Regions from separate parts of the Homo sapiens genome. Here region 2 is linked to region 1. The links are contacts of gene promoters, found by promoter capture Hi-C in blood cells and fetal thymus (Javierre and others, 2016). All regions are on one chromosome and are shown on one strand. Each heading gives the region's core, a stretch centred on a gene start or on the middle of the fragment in contact. The rest is flanking DNA. Distances are from core to core; before and after follow the strand shown. Region 1 holds the start of CERS5 (ceramide synthase 5). Region 2 overlaps LARP4 (La ribonucleoprotein 4).

Region 1 (5,406 bases), core at 879-3,378:
TTGGGCAGCCCCTGAATCACAGCAGATTCAGAGAGACCCAGCATATCCACAGAGACCCAGCATATTCACGTGGTGGAAGATTTATGGACAGCAAAATGAAAGTGAGGTACAGAAACAACCAGATTGGTTACAGATCAGCGTTTGTCTCATTTGAACGTGGTTGGAACAGTTGGCTACATTTGATTGGCCAAAATTCAGTGATTGGCACTGGTGTGGTCTACGTTCGATTTACACCTCCACTTGTTACAGTTCACAATGTACAGAAAACCTTTAGGCCGAACTTAAATATGTAAGGAGGCAGCTTTAGATTAAACTTGACTTAACACTAGCTACCACTTCTTACCTACATAACTTTGGGCAAGTTGTTTGGCCTCACTGGACCTCAGTTTACTTATCCAGTGGGGATAACAAGATCAACTTTATAGGGTGAAGGAGTGAAATAACCTGTGTAAAATGTTCCATGCAGTGCCTGGCACACAGGAAACCTCATCAAACATTGGCTATTTATTTTGTTTTGCCTTTAGGTCCTTTAGATATACTTTTTTTTTTTTTTTTTTTGAGACGAGTCTCACTTTGTCGCCCAGGCTGGAGTGTAGTGGCGCAATCTGGGCTCACTGCAAGCTCCGCCTCCCGGGTTCACGCCATTCTCCTGCCTGAGCCTCCCAAGTAGCTGGGACTACAGGCGCCCGCCACCATGCCTGGCTAATTTTTTGTATTTTAATAGAGATGGGGTTTCACCGTGTTAGCCAGGATGGTCTCGATCTCCTGACCTCATGATCCGCCCGCCTCGGCCTCCCAAAGTGTTGGGATTACAGGCGTGAGCCGCGCCCGGCCTTTTTTTGTTTGTTTTTGTTTTGAGACGCTCTGTTGCCTAGGCTGGAGGGCAATGGCGTGGTCTCGGCTCACTGTGATCTCCGCCTCAAGCAATTCTCCTGCCTCAGCCTCCCGAGTAGCTAGGATTACAGGCATGCACCACCACACCCGGGTAATTTTTGTATTTTTAGTAGGGACGGGGTTTCACCATGGCCAGCCTGGTCTCGAACTCCTTACCTCAGGTGATTCTTCCGCCTTGGCCTTCCAACGTGCTGGGATTACAGGCGTGAGCCACCACACCCGGCCTGCCTTTACGTATACTTTTTGAGTGCTTCCCTTTTCACTTTGTTTTTCTTCCATTTCCTTTTCCCCAAGAGAAGAATAAAAGGATTTTTGTAAACTTTTTTTATTTTTATTTTGGGACGGAGTCTTTGGTCTGTCGCCCAGGCTGGAGTGCAATGGCGCGATTTCGGCTCACTGCGACCTCCGCCTCCCAGGTTCAAGCGATTCTCCTGTCCCAGCTTTCCGAGTAGCTGGGATTACAGGCACAGCGCCACCAGGCCCAGCTAATTTTTGTATTTTTAGTAGAGACGGGGTTTTGCCATGTTGGCCAGGCTGGTCTCGAACTCCTGACCTCAGGTGATCCGCCAGCCTCGGCCTCTGAAAGTGCTGGGATTACAGGCGTGAGCCACCGCGCCCGGCCTTTTGTAAACTGTTAAGTCCATTTTTTCTGAGGAAAAGTGACTAATTTTTAAGGGATAAAGCAGTGAAAGTAGGCTGAGGTCACGGGGCACGAAGGGAAGAAAAGGTTGGGAGCGAAAAGAACTCTAGTGGCGGACAGTAGTGGGCAGGACCAGCTGACATCCAAGAGAAGCCCTGACCTGAGAGATCGATCTGGCCTCCGGGAGTGGAGACAGAGGTACCGCCTGGGTGGGAGCCGGAACGGATTCGATTCCAACAGGCTGAGAAAGGAGAATGTCCCCGTAAAGGAGCTAGGCCTGAAATAAGGGGTGTGGCCGTAGCTGGATGGAAGAGTGAGGGAGGAGTAGAAGCGTGGCCTAGACCAGCAGCAAAAGAGGGCGGGCCCAGGGCCGCCCGAGGCGTGGTCCCAGGGCCGGGCTGGGCGAGTCAGAGGCTCGGGAAGGGGCGTGGATCCCCGGAGGCGGTCCCCGGGTTGCAGTGAGGGAAGTGGGCCGGGAGGAGAGATGGGCGGTGAAGAGGCCCGGCCCTGCCAGGGAGGCGGGCGGATCCGTGGCAGTGACCAGAAGGGGCCGGAAGGGGGTGGCCGCCGGCCGGGCCCCGCCCTGGGGCCGCCTCCCCGCGGGTTCCGTTGGCTGTGGCGGCAGCTGACGCTTGTGGCGGCGGTGGCTTCGGGGTGGGCGTAAGATGGCGACAGCAGCGCAGGGACCCCTAAGCTTGCTGTGGGGCTGGCTGTGGAGCGAGCGCTTCTGGCTACCCGAGAACGTGAGCTGGGCTGATCTGGAGGGGCCGGCCGACGGCTACGGTTACCCCCGCGGCCGGCACATCCTCTCGGTGTTCCCGCTGGCGGCGGGCATCTTCTTCGTGAGGCTGCTCTTCGAGCGGTGAGAGCCCGGGAGCGAGCGGCTCGGGGGCCGGGCGCGGGCCGGGGGCGCCCCGCTGTGGGAAGGGCCGAGGGCCGGAAGCAGAACTGCAAGGAAAGCCCGGAAGCAGGGGCTGGGGGAGCTTGGGCCGCGGCGGGTGATGCTAGGCGCGTGGGCGAGGTGGTAGCCTAGATGGAGAAGGAGTTTGGGGCGTGGGCAAGAGAAAGAGTGAGGGTCTAGGGGAATGCTGGGCCCCTTCAATGTTAGATCCGGAGTTGGATTGGGGGGGTCATATAGGCCTCCTCCCAACCTCCAAGGGTCCTACAGATGAGGAAACAGGTTCAGTGTGAGCTCTGGCAGAGGCCCCGAAGAGAGGGATAGGAAGGGGCCAGGAGAACCAGAGCTAGTTGTGACCATGGAAGCCGAGGGGTCAACGCAAGGGCCAGACGTTCCAAGGGAAAGGAATGGACTCATCAGACTCTTAAGATTTGTTAGGACGCTTGAGTTTCCGAGAATTGGGGGGAACAGGATTAGTTTGGCCCTAAGAGTTGGTTTGGTATGTCAACTCATGCACGTTTGTTGGTAGGAGGGTAGAAATCTGGTTGGGATAGGGTGTGGTGGAGCCCTAGGCTTCCAAAGTAATGGAAAGATGTCAGATTAGTTGCAGAACAGGCCTTGGGGCCTGAAATGGAAGGAGGAGTGTGTTCGAAGGGATGGAGGAGAGCCACAGGGCTTTATCAGAGGACAGCTATATTGAGCCAGATTCTTTTTTCTTTTCTTTTTTTTTTTTTTTTTTTTGAGACAGAGTTTCGCTCTTGTTGCCCAGGCTGGCGTGCAATGGCACGATCTCGGCTTACCGCGACCTCCGCCTCCCCTGTTGAAGCGATTCTCCTGCCTCAGCCTCCCGAGTAGCTGGAATTACAGGCACGCGCCACCACGCCCGGCTACTTTTTGTATTTTTAGTAGAGACGGGGTTTCGCCATGTTGGCCAGGCTGGTCTGTAACTCCTGACCTCAAGTGATCCGCCCGCCTCTGCCTCCCAAAGTGCTGGGATTACAGGCGTGAGCCACCGCACCCGGCCTTGAGCCAGCTTCTAAATGAGTTTAGCAGAATTGCAGTATACTTTGTTCAACCACATGATTTCACCTTTAAGTGAATGGATCATATGTTTGTCCAAGATAAAGATATTCACTGAGGCTTTGGTGTGTGATATTATAATGTGAATTTATACCTGTGGGTGATTTTGATCAAGTCTACTCAGACTCCAAGAAAGGAGACATGTTTCTGCCATAGGCCTCAGGTAATGAGGGTGGTTCTTGGACATCTGTTCGTTTTGCCTTTATCCAAGCATAAATGATTGTAATGCAGGAATGCCCTTTCTAGGATGGGAATATGTTGCAGGTGAAATAATCTGTTAATTTCTGAAAGATAGCATCTGTTTGGGATTGCTTCTTTGATTTGCCTACTGTTTTTGACTCAAGTCTTTCAAAATCTTGTGTTCTATTTAGCTAGTCACGCATCCATTTATTCGTAGTATTTGTGCATCATCATCATCAAAATGCTCTGCCAGACGTTCAAGTGCAAAAATAAAGATGCTTAAGTGAAGCAAATGAAACCCAAAGATCTAAATGGCTTTCCTTGGCCCTCAGGAACTTAGTGTAGCAAGGTTTTTTTTTTTTTCTTTTTCTTTTTCTTTTTTTTTTGAGACGGAGTCTCGCTCTGTCGCCCAGGCTGGAGTGCAGTGGCGCGATCTCAGCTCACTGCAAGCTCCGCCTCTCGGGTTCACGCCATTCTCCTGCTTCAGTCTCCCGAGTAGCTGAAACTACAGGCGCCCGCCACCATGTCCGGCTAATTTTTTGTATTTTTAGTAGAGACGGGGATTCACCGTCTTAGCCAGGAAGGTCTCGATCTCCTGACCTCGTAATACGCCTGCCTCGGCCTCCCAAAGTGCTGGGATTACAAGCGTGAACCGCCGCGCCCGGCCTTGTTTTGTCTTTTTACGTGTAATCGTTGTAGTTAGTCATCCTGGAGTGGAGGCACAAACTGCTTGTCTGTCTTTGGAATAAACTAGATCCAGGTACTCTCTTCCATAGTCTCTGTATATGAGGGCCAAAAAAAAAAAGGAGGAAGGCAATGTAATCACTACAAAGGAAAATACACAAGTCAGGACAAATTTTTTTTTAAAAGGTGATTTTCATAGAAAAACATCTCTGCTTTTCATATAAATATGTGCCAATATGGAAATTTCCCCATGTTAGTGGTAAGAGGAAATAGTTTTGTTGCTTATAAACACCCATTTTATATAAACTTACGTATCTCTTGAGATTCCAAAGTGTTCCCTCAGATGGCTGAAGACATATATCCCCTGGCAGAGCTGCTGGAAGGGATCCTTTACCTGTGGGAATTCTATCTGAGTGTTTCTATGGTGCTCCAGTGTCAGAGGAGTACAGGTGGATGGGAATACTGAGCTGAAAGCATTCTAGTATGATAATTCTTGGCTAGTAAAGACAGGCACCTTGTTTGTCTCATGTTTGCTCTTAGGAAAGTTTAACCCTAGAAGCACTCTTGCTATTTTGTTTCTTTTAAGACCCATTACCTCAGTAATATAATTCACTGCTGACTTGCCAATTCCTCTTTTACCGTTCTGGTCTTCCATAAAGAAAATAGACCACTCCACTCTTATTGTTGTTTTTGAGACAGGGTCTCAGCCTCACCCAGGCTGGACTGCAGTGGCACGAAGCTCACTCCAGCCTCGACCTCTTTGGCTCAAGCAATCCTCCTACCTCAGCCTCCCAAGTAGCCAGGACCATAGGTGCACACCACTATGCCCAGCTAATTAAAAAAAAAAAAAAAAATTGGGAGAGCGGGGCATGGTGGCTCACACCTGTAATCCCAGCACTTTGGGAGGCCGAGGCAGGGAGATCACTTGAGGCCAGGAGTTCGAGACCAGCCTGGCCAACATGGTGAAACCCCATCTCTACTAAAAATATAAAAATTAGCTGGGCATAGTGGTACATGCCTGTAATCCCAG
Region 2 (5,406 bases), core at 1,769-4,268, 270 kb before region 1:
ACTTATGCTTTGCTTGTGTACCTCTTCCAATTTTTCTTCTTTGCCACGAAAGGCAGAAGAAACCTCTTTTAATTTAAACAGAGAACATTTAGTGTTAACAATTATTAATAATTTACCTCTATTGGTGTTGTTTCAGGAATCTCTCTAAGAATTACAATACAACGCTTATGACTTGGTCTCACTTTCTCACCCTTCTCATCAACTTGTACCATGGGAGAAGCTGAAATTTAAAAGAAAGGGTATCACTCAAACGTGACAAGTAGTGATATTATTAATGCCATTAAAGAAACTATTCATTTTAATTTCCAACTGAGTAAATTTGCAGAGGCTGGGTTAATATCCTAAAGAAACTAAGTTGTAGAATCAAAGATTATAGGTATGACAATTTTTTGGAGATTTGTATGTAAAGAACACTGTCAAATGTTATTCATTGAAAAAACATTCAGAGTACTTAACAGAGTAAGTTTGGCACTGCCTTCAGGGAGCATACAACATATATCTAATAAGGCAAATTTCTTGTATATAATAACCAAATTCTTCATTGAGGAGATAACAAATGGATGTTAACAGAAATTAGTGTACTTTCATTGGCCAAACACTATGTTGAGGAGTATAATGAAATCTGATATATGAAGAAATTCTTCCTAAGATTAAAGTTCAAGAAGCCCTTAAACTAAGAACTATATGCAAATTATAAGCTATCCAGGATTTCAACTTACTTAATCTTGCATACTACTACAGAGACCCAAAAGCCATCTTTTAAATGCTGATTATGAGGAAATATTATACTAAATATAGTAGCAAATAGTCCCTTCATGGAGTTAATATACCAGATCTCCATGAACAGGTAAGTAGAATAAAATAAGCAGTTAAGTGTGATGGCATAGGTATAATAAGTGCCAAGTTCCAGCCTAAACAGGTGGGAGATTCTGCCTCTCTTTGCCAACTTTTAATGCAGACAAGATTGGGTCATTTTAAGAAATGATGTCTCTACAAACCAATGAGAGATTCCATAAATGTTTGTAATCCTCTGTAATGTTCCATAAATGTTTGTAATCCTCTGTAATGTTCCATTAATGTTTGTAATCCTCTGTAATGTTCCATAAATGTTTGTAATCCTCTGGAAATGGAAATCTATTCCACTGTAAGTCTATTATCAGACTTGCTATATTTAACTTTTAAACATGTTCAACACATCTCATATAAAAGTGAAGATCTGCCTTATTCAGTCAAATAGTTAACAAAACCCACTCTTAAGAGGTTACCAAGAAATACTGATACAAGACACAAAATCCAGCAAAAATTCTTAAAGCTTCAATCAAGAAATAAAAATTCATTACCAAACTTCAGAGCAGTATTTGTCAAACTGCCCACAGCAACTCATTAGTAGGTTGTAAAATTAGAAACAAGTTTGTTACAAATATTTCGGTCAGGTGTAGGTATATGGTGTATATTGAACTGTCACGAAAAATGTACTTCTTATTTGGGTTTAAAAACTTGAAAGAGATTGTCTTAAAGGTTGTGTGATAACGATACATATCTAACACTCCAGAAAAATGAGACTTAATTGCTTATACTTCTTAAGTGGGCATGATGATAAACAACCAAGGTGCAGAATTATTACAGAAGCTGTATATAGGCCGGGGGTGGTGGCTCACGCCTGTAATTCCAACATTTTGGGAGGCTGAGCAGGATATATATATATATACATACACACATATACACACACACACACCCCCACACACCAGTCAGTAGCGGGATATATATATATATATATATACATACACACACACACACACCCCAGCGGGATATATACACACACACACACACATATCACACACACACACACACACCAGCGGGATACACACACACACACACACACACACACACACACACACACACAGAGTCAGTAAAAATGGGAAGCCAAGGTGGGAGGACTGACTCAGCCAAAGAACAAAGACCAGCCTGGGGAACATACCAAGACCCCACCTCTATACAAAAATTTAAAGATTAGCCAGATGTGGTGGTGTGCGCCTGGGGTCCCAGTAACTTGGGAGGCTACGAGGTAGAAGGATGGCTTGAGCCCAGGAGTTTGGGGCTGCAGTGAGCTGTGATTTGCACCATCACACTCCCGCTTGAGTGACAGAGTGAGACCCTGTCTTTCACCACAACCCCCGAAAAAAAAAAACAAAGAGAGAGAATTCGGAACAAAACAACAAAATAAGGGTGTGGGGAGGGGGCAGTAAAAATAATTCCCTATATGATCAGAAGTCGAAATAACATTTTACGTTTAAAAATTAAAAAAAAAGCTAAAAGGTATTTTTACATACATCTTAACACTTCAAGAATTAGATCAGGGTCTGTAGTCAACTTTTTTATTTCTTCCATGTTGGCAACTGTCCAAATTGGGATGAACTGATCACTATCCATTTGAGATATCAAGTAAAGATCCTTTGACAAATTTTCTCTGAAAAAACAAAATAGTCCTATAAAACAAGCAATTATTAAAAAGCATCTAACAAGAGGTATCTTACTCACTTTTCCTACTTTTTAAATGCATGGAAATAAGATTATTCTATCAGAAATAACATTAAACTTTTCAGTGAACTCTAAAAAGTTGTTAAAAGTTCAATTCAAAAGATACTAATGTAATATATACATAAACATTAGTTAATATAACTTTTACAGTATCTCAATTCCCAAACACATCTAGCACAACATTGGACAATTATACTGATACATAAAGAGGTTTAATATTACAAGTAGCACTTTAACAAAACATTACATATAGCAGAGTTCCATCTTATAAATACTTCATCAGTGATATTAGAATATGCATGATAAAAACTGTAGCTGAACTGTGAACTGACTCAAGAAGGATTTTCCATTTCTGTTTCTTTTTTTCCTGAGACAGAGTCTTGCTCTGTTGCCCAGTCTGGAGCGCAGTGGCGCAAACTCGACTCACTGCAAGCTCTGCCTTCCGGGTTCAAGTAATTCTCCTGCCTCAGCCTCCCGAGTAGCTGGGACTACAGGCGCCCGCCATCACGCTCGGCTAATTTTTTTTTGTATTTTTTAGTACAGACGGGGTTTCACCGTGTTAGCCAGGATGGTCTCGATCTCCTGACCTCGTGATCCATCCGCCTCAGCCTCCCAAAGTGCTGGGATTACAGGCGTGAGCCAGCGCACCCTGTCCAAAATACGTGTTTTAAATTATTTAAGTCAAACATGCTTATATAAATACACACATTGGCTGGGTGCGGTGGCTCATGCCTGTAATCCTAGCACTTTGGGACGCCGAGGCGGGTGGATCATTAGAGGTCAAGAGCTCAAGACCAACCTGGCCAACATGGTGAAACCCCGTCTCTACTAAAAATACAAAAAATTAGCCAGGCTTGGTGGTGGGTGCTACTCGGGGTGCTGAGGCAAGAGAATCGCTTGAACCTGGGAGGCGGAGATTGCAATGAGCCGAGATCACGCCACTGCACTCCAGTTGGGGCAACAAGGGCGAAACTCCATCTCAAAACATAAACAAAAAAAAAAAAAGAAAAATAAAAAATATATATTTAATATTAACACAAAAGATTCTTTAAGGTACATTAAAAAAAGAAGATGCAAACACTTGCATCTTACACATAAAATCTTGTTTAATAAACTTAGGTAAAATCAAATTCACACCTTGCTATTCACATCAAATATTCTTTGAAGCAGTCTGGCTATAAATAGCTGGAAGTTTTTGCTTATAAGGCCCCTTCTCAAAGAGTACTGTTCTGATCACCCTATTTAAAACTGCAACCACCCCAGCATTCCTGATTCCTGTCCTTGCATTTAATTTTTTTCCCATAGCACTTATCTCCTAACATACTCCTTATTTATTATGTTTGTTTTGTGTTCTCACAGTCAGAATATAGGTTCCATGAAGGATCGCTGCTGTTCAATCAATAATGTATTTCAACTGCCTAGTGCCTGGCAAGGAGCAGGCTCAAAGGCCCTTACTTTTACATTCTATTAAAATAGAGGCCAGGCATGGTGGCTCACACCTGTAAACCCAGCACTTTGGGAGGCAAAGGTGGGTGGATCACCTGATATCAGGAGTTTGAGATTAGCCTAGCCAACATGATAAAACCTCGTCTCTACTAAAAACACAAAACTTAGCCAGGCACGGTTGTGCGTGCCCGTACTCCCAGCTACTTGGGAGGCTGAATCAGAAGAATCGCTTGAACCCGGGAGGTAGAGGTTGCAGTGAGCCGAGATCGTGCCACTGCACTCCAGCCTACGCAATAGAGTGAGAACTCCATCTCAAAAAAAAAAAAAAAAGATATTCCTTAAGAATCTGAAAATAAGACAACTATAAACATAATTTTTGCAAAACTAAAAAGCTGTAGCCTAAATGAACTCTGAAATTTAGCAGGTCTATTCTTAAACAGTGATTCAACTCTTAGCTAAAGAAACTGTACCTTGTCAGAAGTAAATCAAATTAATGGATATAACATCTAAGATTTGATTATTCATGAGTAATACCTGATATGTATTAATGGCAATTTTGCTGAGCTACAAATGTCAATTACCCAGCTGGTTCGAACTATATCACAGTCCTGAGTAGGATGTGATGGATCATGACAAGTAGGAGCTTCCACTGCAACAACTAAAAAAGCTGGGATAAACTACAAAAAAAAAAAAAAAAAAAATCACGTTTTTGGAGATCTGGGAAAGCTGTGGAAGCTTCAAGCACAAAATGACTAAAATGCCCCAAAGAAGATCTTTCCTTCCTGAGAGCATTTGCAGATCTTGACTCAGACTCTCCTGGACAATAGAGAAACCAGCAGATCTCCAGGCAGTTGTGTATAAGTATGTGGTAAGTGTAATGGGCAAAGAACTAGAATTATGAATGGAAATTATGGGAGCCACCAATACAGCTGATTTTCCCCATAAGATGTTTCCTGAGTTTTAAGGAGGAAGATGGGAGATTGAGAGTCAGGCTGAAAAGACAGTAAAATCTATGTGGTCTCGTGATTAAGTCCCAGTGCAAGCAAAAATGCGGCAAACGCAAGTCTCCCCGATAAGACACTGCCAGCTTTTCTTTTTTTTTTTTTTTTTGAAACGAAGTCTCGCTCTTATTCCCCAGTCTGGAGTGCAATGGTGCGATCTCGGCTCACTGCAACCTCCACCTCCTGGGTTCAAGCGATTCTCCTGCCTCAGCCTCTCGAGTAACTGGGATTAGTAGTGCATACCACCATGCCCAGCTAATTTTTTGTATTTAAGTAGAGATGGGGTTTCACCATGTTGGTCAGGCTAATACTGAACTCCTCACCTCAGGTGATCCGCCTGCCTTGGCCTCCCAAAGTGCTGGGATTACAGGTGTGAGCCACTGCGCCAGGCCAAGACACTGCCAGATTTTCAAGCAGTATG

Evidence for each region. Contacts are between HindIII fragments. The CHiCAGO score rates a contact against its expected background, and 5 or more counts as called.
Region 2: a fragment that was not itself captured here is called in contact with the fragment with the promoter of CERS5 in region 1 in 1 of 17 cell types (M2 macrophages); the score reaches 5.1 in M2 macrophages.

The regions. Positions count from the first base shown.
Region 1 is chr12:50,164,091-50,169,496 of GRCh38, reverse strand. CERS5 (ceramide synthase 5) reads left to right here and starts at 2,128. Exons shown (of 10, transcript NM_147190.5): 1 at 2,128-2,396. The coding sequence starts at 2,200. It overlaps LOC124902931 (a long non-coding RNA gene), which reads right to left. Exons shown (of 2, transcript XR_007063304.1): 2 at 3,874-4,471. RefSeq lists enhancers at 779-1,540, 1,592-1,751, 2,642-2,781 and silencers at 1,852-2,251, 2,352-2,501. The HindIII fragment of the contact is 9,101 bases long and covers 1-2,230 here.
Region 2 is chr12:50,432,549-50,437,954 of GRCh38, reverse strand. LARP4 (La ribonucleoprotein 4) reads right to left here. Exons shown (of 16, transcript NM_052879.5): 5 at 2,331-2,467; 6 at 117-220. Among named protein-coding and RNA genes, the nearest start is that of SNORD133, 21 kb to the left of the region's middle. The HindIII fragment of the contact is 3,407 bases long and covers 1,315-4,721 here.